4 separate regions of the Homo sapiens genome follow, and all the other regions are linked to region 2. The links are contacts of gene promoters, found by promoter capture Hi-C in human tissues and cell types (Jung and others, 2019). All regions are on one chromosome and are shown on one strand. Each heading gives the region's core, a stretch centred on a gene start or on the middle of the fragment in contact. The rest is flanking DNA. Distances are from core to core; before and after follow the strand shown. Region 1 overlaps LOC105379364 (a long non-coding RNA gene). Region 2 holds the start of UNC5D (unc-5 netrin receptor D). Region 3 has its middle 24 kb from the start of KCNU1. Region 4 has its middle 5.0 kb from the start of KCNU1.

What was found. Contacts are between HindIII fragments. The study calls those that stand out against the background at their distance.
Region 1: a fragment that was not itself captured here is called in contact with the fragment with the promoter of UNC5D in region 2 in 1 of the 25 tissues and cell types used here (dorsolateral prefrontal cortex).
Region 3: a contact is called between a fragment that was not itself captured here and the fragment with the promoter of UNC5D in region 2, in 1 of the 25 tissues and cell types used here (dorsolateral prefrontal cortex).
Region 4: a fragment that was not itself captured here is called in contact with the fragment with the promoter of UNC5D in region 2 in 1 of the 25 tissues and cell types used here (dorsolateral prefrontal cortex).

What each region holds. Positions count from the first base shown.
Region 1 is chr8:33,927,691-33,930,935 of GRCh38, reverse strand. All of the region lies in intron 2 of LOC105379364 (a long non-coding RNA gene), which reads right to left. Among named protein-coding and RNA genes, the nearest start is that of DUSP26, 330 kb to the right of the region's middle. The HindIII fragment of the contact is 5,310 bases long and covers 1-3,245 here.
Region 2 is chr8:35,233,679-35,236,767 of GRCh38, reverse strand. It overlaps UNC5D (unc-5 netrin receptor D), which reads right to left and starts at 1,293. Exons shown (of 17, transcript NM_080872.4): 1 at 881-1,293. The coding sequence starts at 983. The HindIII fragment of the contact is 15,361 bases long and covers 1-3,089 here.
Region 3 is chr8:36,758,687-36,761,649 of GRCh38, reverse strand. No RefSeq gene overlaps it. Among named protein-coding and RNA genes, the nearest start is that of KCNU1, 24 kb to the left of the region's middle. The HindIII fragment of the contact is 3,119 bases long and covers 5-2,963 here.
Region 4 is chr8:36,777,743-36,780,926 of GRCh38, reverse strand. No RefSeq gene overlaps it. Among named protein-coding and RNA genes, the nearest start is that of KCNU1, 5.0 kb to the left of the region's middle. The HindIII fragment of the contact is 4,036 bases long and covers 1-3,184 here.

The sequences.
Region 1 (3,245 bases), core at 522-3,021, 1.3 Mb after region 2:
TCTCTTAAAATGGAAAATTTTTTAAAAAGAAAATTTTGTATTTATTCACTTATTCCTCCATTCATTCATTCAATACATAACTAGTACCTGCTCTGTATCAGACACTGTACTAGATGTCAGAGATTTAATGGTGGACAAAATAGAAAGAAGCAAACCCTTTGGGCATTTAAAGTAAAACTGTACAATTAAAGGATCATCTACTACTGTAACAGCTAAGAAGGAGAGGCTCATGGTGCTCTGATAACTCATACTGGTTAATGTGACCTAATTAGCAGGATAGGAAGGGTGTTCTTGAGGAAGCTGTAGGCCAAAGAGAGAACAGCTTTCACCTGGATGAAGAGGGAAGAAGGGAGTTTTTGAGGAGGAGAGCATACAAAGACCTCGTGATGGAAGGGAGACAGTGAGTGCAGAGCCTGGGTAAACCATCCCCTAGTGACCACTGCCCATGGCATGAGGCCAGCCAAAGAACAAAGAAAGAGACCTAGAAGGAGTGTTTGGGTGATTTTCCAGCCCTGGCTTGGAGGCAACATTACATCATCATGGCCTGAGTGCAACTGAACAGAACCCAGTCACTGGGTCTCATCTGACTGCAAAGTAGACTGCAAAATGTACTCCAACTCTCACTGGAAACAAGAAGACTAAGGATCTGACAGGAGATAACTTACTCACTTGGATTTATTCCCTTTGGGATGGTGAAGGAGAGGGACTAGACAGTCACTAGAGAGGGATGACAGTTTAGTTGAATAACAAGGACCTCAAAGGAGTGAGATTTGTATAACAGGGTATATAAGGAGCGGTTTGAGAGTGTTAACATGAAAAGAGGAGGGTATCCTTGAAAAGTAAACTCTTACAAACACAAACTCATCTCAGAAGTTTTGAGACTGCCTATTGTCTGTGTGGAGGTAATATCATAAACCTAAAGCCTGGGTTCTCACGTGTAACATTCCTGGGTCCAAATCCCTACTTTGCCTCTTACTAATTTATTAACTATGTCACATTGGATGAGTAATTTAACCTTTATGTGACTCAGTTTTCTCATCAATAAAGTGGGATTAATTACCATTCTGCCTCTTAAAGTTGTTGGTAGACTTCAATGAGATTGGGAGTAAGTGTAATGACAGCGCCTAGCATATAGTAGATGCCTGGTAAATGTTTGCTATTATTAACTACATTACTACTGAAGATTGCTTTATATTTTGATAATAATAGACATAAATTTGTCTTACTCTAAGTAGAAATTTCTACTAATGAGAAAATCCCATTCCAAGAGTATTTTAGGTAACTGGAGTTTTTGTGTATACTTTGTGACTCAAAGTAACCCTTTTCTGATGTACCCTCCTTCAGAGAAAATAATAGTATGCTACGACAAAATGCCGTCCCTAGGATACTCTGAGAATAAGGAGGAGCTAGTCACAGAGGAGGCAAAATGGAAATGAGCCGAGAGCAGTGCAAAGCCCAGGCAATTTTATTTATACAAGAGAGACATTTACTGCTCCTGTGAAAGCATTTCCAAGTGCTGGGGCAAAATTCCATTCTCATTCCTGAGAAGCACCAATATCCTTGGGAGAATTAGTTTCTAGGAATCAGCTGGGATACAGCTTCAAAAGCCCAGGGCAACAATGTCAGAGTCAGGTTAGAGTCCTTAGCCAGGGTGTATTAGTCTGTTCTCACACTGCTAATGAAGACAGACCTGAGACTGGGTATCTTAAAAAGCAAAGAGGTTTGACTCACAGTTCAGTATGGCTGGGGAGGCCTCACCAAACTTACATTCATGGCAGAAAGGGAAGCAAACAACCTTCTTTACATGGTGGCATCAAGGGGAAGTGCCCAGCAAAAGGGGGCAAATCCCCTTATAAAACTATCAAATCTCATGAGAATTCACTTACTATCACAAGAACAGCACAGAAGTACTTGCCCCCATGATTCAATTACCTCCCACTGGTTCCCTCCTATGACATGTGGGGATTATGGGAACTACAGTTCAAGATGAGATTTGGGTGGGGACACAGCCAAACCATATCACAGCGAGAGCAACTTGAATGAAAAGGAAGTTGACCAGGAAAGTGCTGCAATGGGAACGGACCATCAGGAGGCCTGGAGCAACGGCCTAACTCACTTGGGAGAAGGAAGCTGGAAATGAAGAGTGGTGAGCAAGACCACCCTGGGAATTCCAAAAGGTAATGCCACCACACAAGAGTGCCTATTATCCCCCAAGACAACCTTTGAATTTTTAGGTGAAGCTCTGTGTGTCCAGCAACAGCTTGCTATGGTCTGAATGTTTGTGTCCTCCCAAAAATCACATGTTGAAACCTAATCCCCACTGTGAAAGCATTGGGAGGTGAGGACTTAGGGAGGTGATTAGGTCATGAGGGCCTGCCCTCATGAATGGGTCTAGTGCCCTTATAAAAGAGACCCCAGAGTATTGCCTTGCCCCTTCCACCATGTGAGAATGCAGTGAACAGATGTCTACCAACTAAGAAGCAGGCCCTCACCAGAAACTGAATCTGCTGGCTCCATGAATCTTGGACTTCTCAGTCTCCAGAACCATGAGAAACACATTTCCATTGCTTATAAGCCACACAGTTTATGGTATTTTATTATAGCAGACCAAACAGACTAAGACACAGCTAAATGGTAACCAGGGATAATCGCCATAGGTAGGTGAACTTTCATGTGCAGGTTTGTTACATAGGTATTCATGTGCTATGGTGGTTTGCTGCACCTATCAACCCGCCCTCTAGATTTTAAGCCCCGCATGTATTAGGTATTTATCCTAATGCTTTCCCTCACCTTTCCCCCCACCCCCTAGCAGGGCCCAGTGTGTGATGTTCCCCTCCTGTGTCCATGTCTTCTCATTGTCCAACTCCCACTTATGAAGTGAGAACATGCAGTGTTTGGTTTTCTGTTCCTGTGTTAGTTTTCTGAGGATGATGGTTTCCAGCTTCATCCATATCCCTGCAAAGAACATGAACTCATTCCTTTCTATGGCTGCATAGTATTCCATGGAGTATATGTGCCACATTTTCTTTATCCAGTCTATCATTGATGGGCATTTGGGTTGGTTCCAAGTCTTTGCTATTATAAATAGTGCTGCAATAAACATACGTGTGCATGTGGAAAAGAAACTTTTTTTAAAAGGGAAACACATCAGAACATCGGCACCTAAAGGAATTTTTTTCTCTTCAAAGTGGTGATTATGAATGTATTTATTCTAGAAACGTTGTCATTGCTTAAAAATTTTTTGC
Region 2 (3,089 bases), core at 44-2,543:
TGCCTCTGATCATCTTCAAAACAACTCCTTGGGATTTATCTTTAACTTGATGCTGCCTGTCCTCGCTCAAGGTGGAGCTGAAACCAGTTGCGAAATTTCCCTCTGCTGGAGTCCAGAGGATCCAAGAAAATGGGGTCTAGGCTTCTAAGTCGGAAAGAAGCAGAGGTTTCCCTGCGGCTCGGTGGGGCCCGCGCTTCCAAGCCAGAGTAGGCGCCGGGAAGGGAGAGGAGGCGCCTGGTGAGCAGCCTCGGGCCAAGTGCTCATCCCGGCTGGGCACTGCAGGCGCGGTTAAACTGGGATGGTGCACGCCGCTCTCCCGAGCTCCAGGGCTGGCTGGGACCTCGGGCTAAGGACGCCCGAGGGGTGCCAAGCTAGGCGCAGAGCGAAGGGACTTCAGCATGGGTGTTCCTCCCCTAAGGGAAAAGACACCCTCTCTGTTCAAGCCCACCCTACAGACACTCCCATCACCTGGCCCCTCTCCCCAGGAACTCTCCGACATCGCTATGGGCGCTAACTCATGACCAAGCTCGGCTTGAGAGGAAGTGGAGAGGAGAGGGGAGAGCGAGATTGGAGTGAAGACCGGGCTACTCCAGTCTGCAGCAATTGGGGAGGGCTTGGAAAATGGAGCAGGCAAGGAGGGTCCAGGAAAACGGTAGGGGCCCGGGTCACAGCCACCTGTAGGATTGCGGCAGATCGCAAACTTGGGTTGGAAGGCTGTGGTCCCCTCGGAGTCCTCCACTCGGCTCCCATCCGGTTGGGCTTGGAGCGCCGAGGTGCAGGGCGCAAGTTGGGAAGCCAACGCCATCGGTGCAGGTCCCGCTCCGTCAGGCTGGCGCCCCTGCGCCCTCGCCCCCAGCTGCCCGCTCCGCCCAGCGCTTACCTCGGGCAGCCGCGGTCCCTGCCGCCCAGAAGCACAGCCCCAGCCACGGGAGCCAGCGGCGCGCCCCTCCGCCGCCGCCTGCGGTGGCCGCCGCTCTCCCCATGCTCCTCGCCGCGTTCCGGAGGGCGGCTCTTCTTCACGCTCCGGGAGCCCGGGAAAGGGTCGGCGATGAGGGTCCCGAGTCGAATGGGTCTCGGGAGTCTTCAGAGAGTGACTCTGCTCCACGATCGCTTCCTAAAGCAGCGGGGCAGGGAGCTCCGAGCCGCCGCTGAATGGGCACCCCGAGAAAGGGCGCGTCCCCATAGCTTCCCACGGCGCGGCGACCGCTGCCGCCAGCGCGGATGCCGGAGTCGCCCGCAGTCCCCGCCGCGCAGTTCCCAGCCCTCGCGCCGCTGCCGGGCCCCGAACTACGGAGCGGAGGCGAGAGTCCGCATCGCTAATGAGACCCCCGCAGCCGCCCCTTCCCCTCCCCTCCGAGCGGCAGCCAATGAGCCGGGCTGGGGCGGGGCCGCGGGAGGGGCGGTGACGCGGCGGCGCTGGGCTGGGGCCCGGGAGGCGCAGGTGAGCCAGAGGCCGCTCCACGTGCCCCCGGGGCGCTTCGGGCCCCGCCTGCAGCTCCCCCCCCCGCTCGCGGAGAGAGGAAGCGGGCTGGGAGTCGGGCGGCGGGGATGCGGCCACGCCGCGGGGAGCTGAGCGGAGCCGGCTGGCCTCTTGGGGCGAACGCCGCACAGATATGTGGGCATCTCGGTTGCCTAACTCAGTCACCTGCTTCCAGGAGACCTCCGTTTTGTTCATCTACTTTGAGCCCTTCTAAAGTCCTGCCTCTCCTACTTCCACTTTTTCCCATTAGATCAGACATCACTCAGGAAAACATCCTGAGAAAAAGAAAGACTTAAAATAAATGCGTAGTGGGAAAAAATAATAATGGAGTTACTCCATTGCTGCAACTATGCTAACTTCATTCATATAAATAAAGAAGTGGGGAATAACAATCATGGGTGCATTAAGGCTTGTATAATCGATTTTTATTTTTGCTTTCTTTTTTTTTCGAATTCCCTATTCTGTTGTCCTGAACACTCCGGAATCCCCAAACTTTTCAGAAGCTCCCTCATTTCGAATGGCTCCTATTTTTGTCAGTTTTAATCTGAGCCCAAGGAATTGCCTTCTGGTAAGTATCAGGGAAAGGAGTGTCGACTTAAAAAGGAAGAAGGTGAGGCGAAATTAATATAAGTAAGAGTTTATTTGGGCCAAGTGTGAGGATTGCAACTCAGGAGTATAGATTTAAGTTGTTTTGAATATATATTTTGATTAGTAGTAGTTATAAGTGGATTCTTAAAGGCAAAAAAAAGGGGGATGGGGAGTGGACTGATGTAACATTGTTAGGAATTTATACTGATTTATTGAAATAATGTCGATTAGTGATTAGTTATATATAGTTAAGTCATAGGATGTGGGTTATACTGTTTGATGTGGTATTATTAGGTTAATTTATAGCTATTTGTAGTAATAGTATGTAGTTTTAAGAAATGAATATATAGTTTAAAGGAAGGAGTAGGGCATGATTGTGGTCTCATTCTAATGTCTCTCTGGGCCTGACAATTAAAAGGACTTTGAAACGCGCTGGACTTTTATAAGAAGAAGGAAAGAAGACTCTTTTTTTTTTTTTTTTTAAGTGTGGCTTGTTTTAGATAGATTATCAAATTTTTATTTAACTGCTTTCGAAAATACCTCACGGTTGCCTCTTCCCTCTGCTGGAGGAGTAACTTTAGAGAGCTTGTCCTAGGTCACTCAATTTCAGAGCACACCCAGGAAGTTGGTGGGGAGTCCCAGGCTCCCCAATTGGACTACCTCATTATCGCTGCCAGGATCGAGTCCTCAAAATGGCAGCAGAGCTCACCTTTTGCCTGGTAATCCCCCATAGAAAAGGGAGCCTTGGTTTGAAAGGCAACCTTCCCAGCAGTTCCTCACTACCCACGCTCAACATCAAGTACTTTTCAAAAATCCATGTCTCCCGCCAATGTGCTACCTGCTCCCAAACGCCTTTCTCTGAAGAATAAACAGTTTAAGGTGAGGTAATTGTTCTAGATGAGGTAATTGCACTAACTCACTTTCTTCCGAGGAAAAGGAAGATAATAGGCAAAAAAGATTGATTCTCTGATAAGCACTTTTGTGCCAGCCCTCTCTTGAGTGCCACCAGACACGTGAATGT
Region 3 (2,963 bases), core at 315-2,814, 1.5 Mb before region 2:
TTTTTTATTTAACTTTATTTATTTATTTATTTATTTTGAGATGGAGTCTCGCTCTGTCTCCCAGGCTGGAGTGCAGTGGCACAATCTTGGCTCACTGCAACCTCTGCCTCCCGAGTTCAAGTGATTCTCCTGCCTCAGCCTCCCAAGTAGCTGGGATTACAGACACGTACCACCACGCCTGGCTAATTTTTGTATTTTTAGTAGAGACAGGGTTTCACCTTGTTGGCCAGGTTGGTCTCGAACTCCCGACTTCAGGTGATCCGCCTGCCTTGGCCTCCCAAAGTGTTCATATTTTTATATAATCAAATTTAAGTTTTTTTTTCCACTCATGATTTACTCCATTGTCATTGTACCTTGAAAGTGCCCTAATAGGTTGAACTCTAACGTCCATATAAAAGAGACTTCCTCTGAAAAGCTTAAAAGGGGAAAAGATCACACCTGTAATCCCAGCACTTTGGGAGGCCCAGGCGGGCAGATCACGAGGTCAGGAGATCGAGACCATCCTGGCTAACACGGTGAAACCCCGTCTCCACTAAAAGTATATTAAAAAAAATTAGCTGGCGTGGTGGCAGGCGCCTGTAGTCCCAGCTACTTGGGAGGCTGAGGCAGGAGAATAGCATGAACCTGGGAGGCAGAGATTGCAGGGAGCCAAGATCTTGCCACTGCACTCCAGCCTGGGCAACAGAGCAAGACTCCGTCTGAAAAAAAAAAAAAAAAAAAGGAGGGGTGGGAAGAAACTTGTCCTACTAGTTATTACCAAGTTTATCAAGTCACAGTAATGAAAACAATTTGGCTTTGCCAGAACAGTCAGACAAATGCATCCAAGTGACTGAGTAGAAAATCCCTTTATCGCTATGTAATATATCATAAAACATTGCATGTTAGCAGGAACAAAGCTTACTATTCTATCAATAGCAGTAGGAAAATTGGCTATTTGGGTGAAACATCAAGGTAGAACTTCATGTAACTGTGACTTAATTTCAGGTAGGTAATTTTTCTTAAAATGTCAGACACTATTCTAGGTACTGAGGTTATATCTGTGAAATAGAAAGATGAAGACCTTGCTTATTCTAATGAGGATAAACATACACTAAACCAATGAATAAAATAATTAAAAAAACTTCAGAATATACATGCTCTGAAGGAAATGAACAGGATGATGGGCTAGAGACGAAATGGGGTGGAGGTAAAGTGACTTCAGATGGGGTGGCATGGAAGGCTCCTTTAAGAAGGTGGAATCTGAGCAGAGACCACAAGAATTGTGTATTAGTCTGTTCTCATGCTGCTAATGAAGACTTACCCGAGACTGGGTAATTTAGAAGAGAAAGAGATTTAATGAACTCACAGTTCCACAGGGCTGGGAAGGCCTCAGAGTCATGGCAGAAGGCGAAGGAGCAGCAAAGTCACATCTTACCTGGCAGCAGGCAGGAGAAGAATGAGAGCCAAGCAAAAAGGGAAACCTCTTATAAAACCATCAGATCTCATGAGACATATTCACTACCACGAGGTTTATTCACTACCATAGGGGAGAAACTGCCTCCATGATTCAATTATCTCCTACTAGGTCACTGCTACAATCTGTGGGGATTATGGGAGCTACAATTCAAGATGAGAGTTGGGTGGAAAACAGCCAAACCATATCAAATTGAAACTGTGCCCAAAATAGTTAAAGAAACTAATGACTAAGACATATTCATGAGTTTGTAGGATGGGAGATTAAATAACAACAAAAGACTTGCTGAAATGCTGGAGCTCCCCCAACTTACGAGATTTAAAAGACTGCCAAAAATTGATTAAAATTGATTGGAACCAATATGACCAACTGAAGTCTATAAAGAATGGGCTTGCTGACGTCACAGCCCAAATTTCGACCACATGTTTCATACTAATGCCTGTCAAATGTGCACATGCGACTGACTCATGAGAAGGCAGTGAAGAGACACCTGTGCATGCCTGAGAACTTTTTAGTCCTCCTCTTTCCGCCTACCAATTACCCACTAATCTCACAATTCACCCCCTAAAGCTTTTCTAATAAAATGACTGCCTTGGAGCCAGTACATGGAGACAGATTTGAGCTAGACTCTAGTCTCCTTGTTAGTTAACTTGCAATAAAAAATGCTTTTCTTTTCTCAAAAACCCAGGGATAAAATATTGGCTTCCTGTGCATTTAGGAGCAAGCCATTTTACTTGGTAACCTCTTCAGTTAAGAGATGGGAAAGAATGAGATGTCTGCAGATGATAGCAAGGAGGGAGCAGCATCTCTGGTATATTCTGGCGGCTTGAATATCGGAGGAGGTGGGACATTGCAGGAGGAAGGAGAAAGGATATGGAAGAGGCAAGAGGGAGCACGGAGAACACTCATACTGCCTCATGGCTCTGCAGTGTGGGGAAATGAGAGAGGGATATAAAAGGCCTTCAACTGGGGGAGTTTTGGAGAAATGGAGTCCATTGGGGAAAGTCAGCTTTCAGTAAAGGCACAATCAGCAAATGTTGAAGAAGGACTAGCTGTTTCCAGGTGAGGCTACCTAAAGTGCACAGTGTAGGCTTTGCATGGGCAGGAAGGGGAAGGCAATGTACCAGACTATGAGGGGTCCCAAGCAGGAAGGGGACAAGAGTGCAGGTGGTACGTAAGGTCAGCAGGGTTGCAAGACATTGTGGGGTTACCTCTGATGGTTCCTAGAGGAAGGGGAACAATTAGTTCAAAGTACAGTAGCAAGAAGTTAAATGATATGGAGTGATTACTTCCTCTGCAATTCCAGATGATGTTTGTGTAACAACCTTGACTGAGAATAAGACTGAGGGAGGGGAAAGTAGGATGGAAGATTCTCACTGGGAGTGAGAGGTAAGGTGTTGGTCTTTGGGTGACTACTTTCTCAATTGTTTTCTCTTATAATGGTCAGTCGAGAATAAGGAATTATTTCATAAGACAGTTACAGACATTGATACCACAAGCCCCAGAGGGG
Region 4 (3,184 bases), core at 359-2,858, 1.5 Mb before region 2:
CTGAATCTGCATGAACCTTAACCTAAGTTATCCAGATTTCTCTGCTCCATATTCTCCATCTTTGACGGCAAACTGTTCTTGTGATGAAAGCATCATCCATAGTGTGTAATGCATGGTTCATAGTGTGTGTGCATGTGTGTAAGTGTGTGTGTGTGTGTGTGTGTGTGTGTGTGTGTAGTGAAAAGGGCACCTGATTTGGATCAAGTGTCAAAGTGTCACCATCTTTGCAAATTTAAATTTGGTAATTATGGCCAGATGCGGTGGCTCACGTCTGTAATCCCAGCACTTTGGGAGGCCGAGGCAGGCAGATCACCTGAGGTCAGGAGTTTGAGACCAGCCTGGCCAACATGGTGAAACCCCCCTCCCTAATAAAAATACAAAAAAATTAGCCAGGTGGGGTGGTGGGTGCCTGTAATCCCAGCTACTCGGGAGGCTGAGGCAGGAGAAGCGCTTGAACCCGGGAGGTGGAGGTTGCAGTGAGCCGAGATCATGCCGCTGCACTCCAGCCTGGGTGACAGAGTGAGACTCCGTCTTAAAAAAAAAATGGTAATTATTCTCGGTTAGTGAGTTATTTGGTGATGGGTGGACATGTGACTAGGCAAAGCCCTTCGTAGCTTGGTAGCAGTTCAGTGTTCAGAACTTGGAAGGTAGGGAACTTTGAAGCAATGATACCCTTCACAGTAATTAAGATAGTACTCTCCTTGTACTTGATGGTTTGATAAGGATAAAAAACAGTAACTATTTTTTTGACTACCAGCTGCAAGCTAGAATCTTCGTCGTGTGTGTGTGTGTGTGTATGTATGTGTTTAACAATTACCTTATACCAAGGACTGGGAGCACCAGGGACACCAAAACAAATCTAGTTCATTCCCTCATAGAAGAGAGTCAACTGAGGAAGACATTTACAATAACAAACTGCAAAAAGTGTTTAGAAAATAAACTAATCTGGTGAGGATCGAGGGGGTCAGGAAAGCTACCTCAAATACGTCATGTTTGAAGCTGAGGTCTGTAGAATGAGAAGCTTCCCAGGCCAGGACAACAGAAGGGGTTAAGGAGGCTGGGGTAGAACATGATCAGGCTGAGAAGATATGTGGAAAGGAGAATGCACTTTCTTTCTTTCTTTTTTTTTTTTTTTGAGACAGAGTCTCGCTCTGTTGCCCAGGGTGGAGTGCAGTTGCGCGATCTCGGCTCACTGCAAACTCCGCCTCCCCGGTTCACGCCATTCTCCTGCCTCAGCCTCCCGAGTAGTTGGGACTACAGGCGCCCGCCACCACTCCTGTATTTTTAGTAGAGATGGGGTTTCACCGTGTTAGCCAGGATGTTCTCGATCACCTGACCTCGTGATCCGCCCGCCTCGGCCTCCCAAAGTGCTGAAGTGCATTAATCATCGGCCAGATGGAACACAGTGACCCAAAAGAAGGCTGGGCGTGTATAAAGGTGTTGCAGGACTTTTCCTTAGTTCGGCTAAAGACGGGGTCCTTGTCCGTCCCATGGCCGTGAAAATTTAGGCTCATAGACGGTTTGAATGGTGAGTAGGAGAGAGTAGTATTGATTGAAGAGGAAGAAAAGAGGCTCGAATCAGGGACTCTCGCAAGGCGAGCCCCTGCTAGAGCGCTTCCCGCCTGCAGCTTGAATCCCGGGTTCCACACAGGAAGAGGAGGGACCAGGCTCCTCCCTGCTCCAAAGGGCACGAACTTCTGTGTCTCCACCCCAGTGCGCATTTCTCCTAGTGCGCAGGCTCGTTGGAGGTTTTCCGGGGACCCTTTCCAACCTGGCTGTCTCAAAGGGAACCAGATTATGCAAGGCTTTGTGTTCCAGCTTAGGCTAAACCAAGAACAACTTTATCCTAAGGTCAAGAGGAAATATTTGATAGGTTCTAAAGAAGGGAGGTAAGTCATTGCATTTCGATTGTAAAAGCATCACACTGGTTTTCATGCAGAGACTGCTGGTCTCGATAGTGACAGGACGCTAGTCCTGATGGGATGGGGCTGGTGGGAAGAGACACAAGTGGGCAGGTGTGAGTGATGTCTGGGGAAAAATCAGCATTTGGGACATGAGGGCCAGGAAGCCTCAAAGGTGATCCTGGGTCTCTGAGTGATACCTCTGGGTAGTTCTGGGGGCTTTTCACTGCCATGCCTTTAATAGTAAATCTAAGAAGTGAAGACTGTGCTACGGAATCTTTTCTTTTTTTTTCCTTTTTTTTTAAGTTCAGATGAATTTTTTAACATGTCAGTGATTTGATTAGAAAAATTGCTTCACTTTGTACACATTTCTGTAATTTACCTCTGGGCACTCAAATATTCTGCAAAATTATACTTTATAATGGGATTGAATAAATGTTTAATTTTAAAAATTTATTCTCTTCAAGCAACATGCCATATCTGAGAAAGGAAAGTAAGAATTACATTTTTAAGTGTAGATAGCAGCACTCAGGAATGAGTGTGTGTGTGTGTGTGTGTGTGTGTGTGTGTATTTGCAATGCTTCTGGAAGTAATAAGTTATATTGTAATGTTGCCTTTTTAAGTGCCTAAATCCATCCATTGCACTTAATGCTATAACCCCACATTTCTCTATTTCTATAAGCAGAGCTTTTTTTTATATCCTCAGAGCACATTCATACCATTGGGAAATTGCACTGTTGAGAAATGCTAAGCCTCAGTCCTCAATTCATGCAGCCAGTCAATGGCAGAAGCAGGTCTGAAGTTGGGGATGGAAACGGCTGTAATGCCACAGAGCACTAGAGTCATGGTGAAAGCCCATTACAGCCAGCTGCTTCCAGGGAAATCTCTCCTTGCTGAGTTCTTATATCTCTCACTAAGGAAATTGACTTAAAGATTACAGCTTCACTTTCTCAAGGTGTGTACATGGAGTTATTTAAGTCACCAAGTCTTTACTTAGACCTCCTTAAGGATTCATTTTTGGTTTAACTCCTCTTTTTACATTTCACCAGTAGGGTACATAACATATTAATTACTTTCCGAGAAGCTTCTTTTTGAGGGAACCTTCCTTTTTTCTACAGAGTCTCGCTCTGTCAGGCAGGCTGGAGTGTAGTGGTGCGATCTCAGTTCACTAACCTCCCAGGTTCAAGTGATTCTCCTGCCTCAGCCTCCTGAGTAGCTGGGATTATAGGCACACACCACCACGCCCAGCTAATGAGGGAACATAATTCAATCCGTATTTTGTT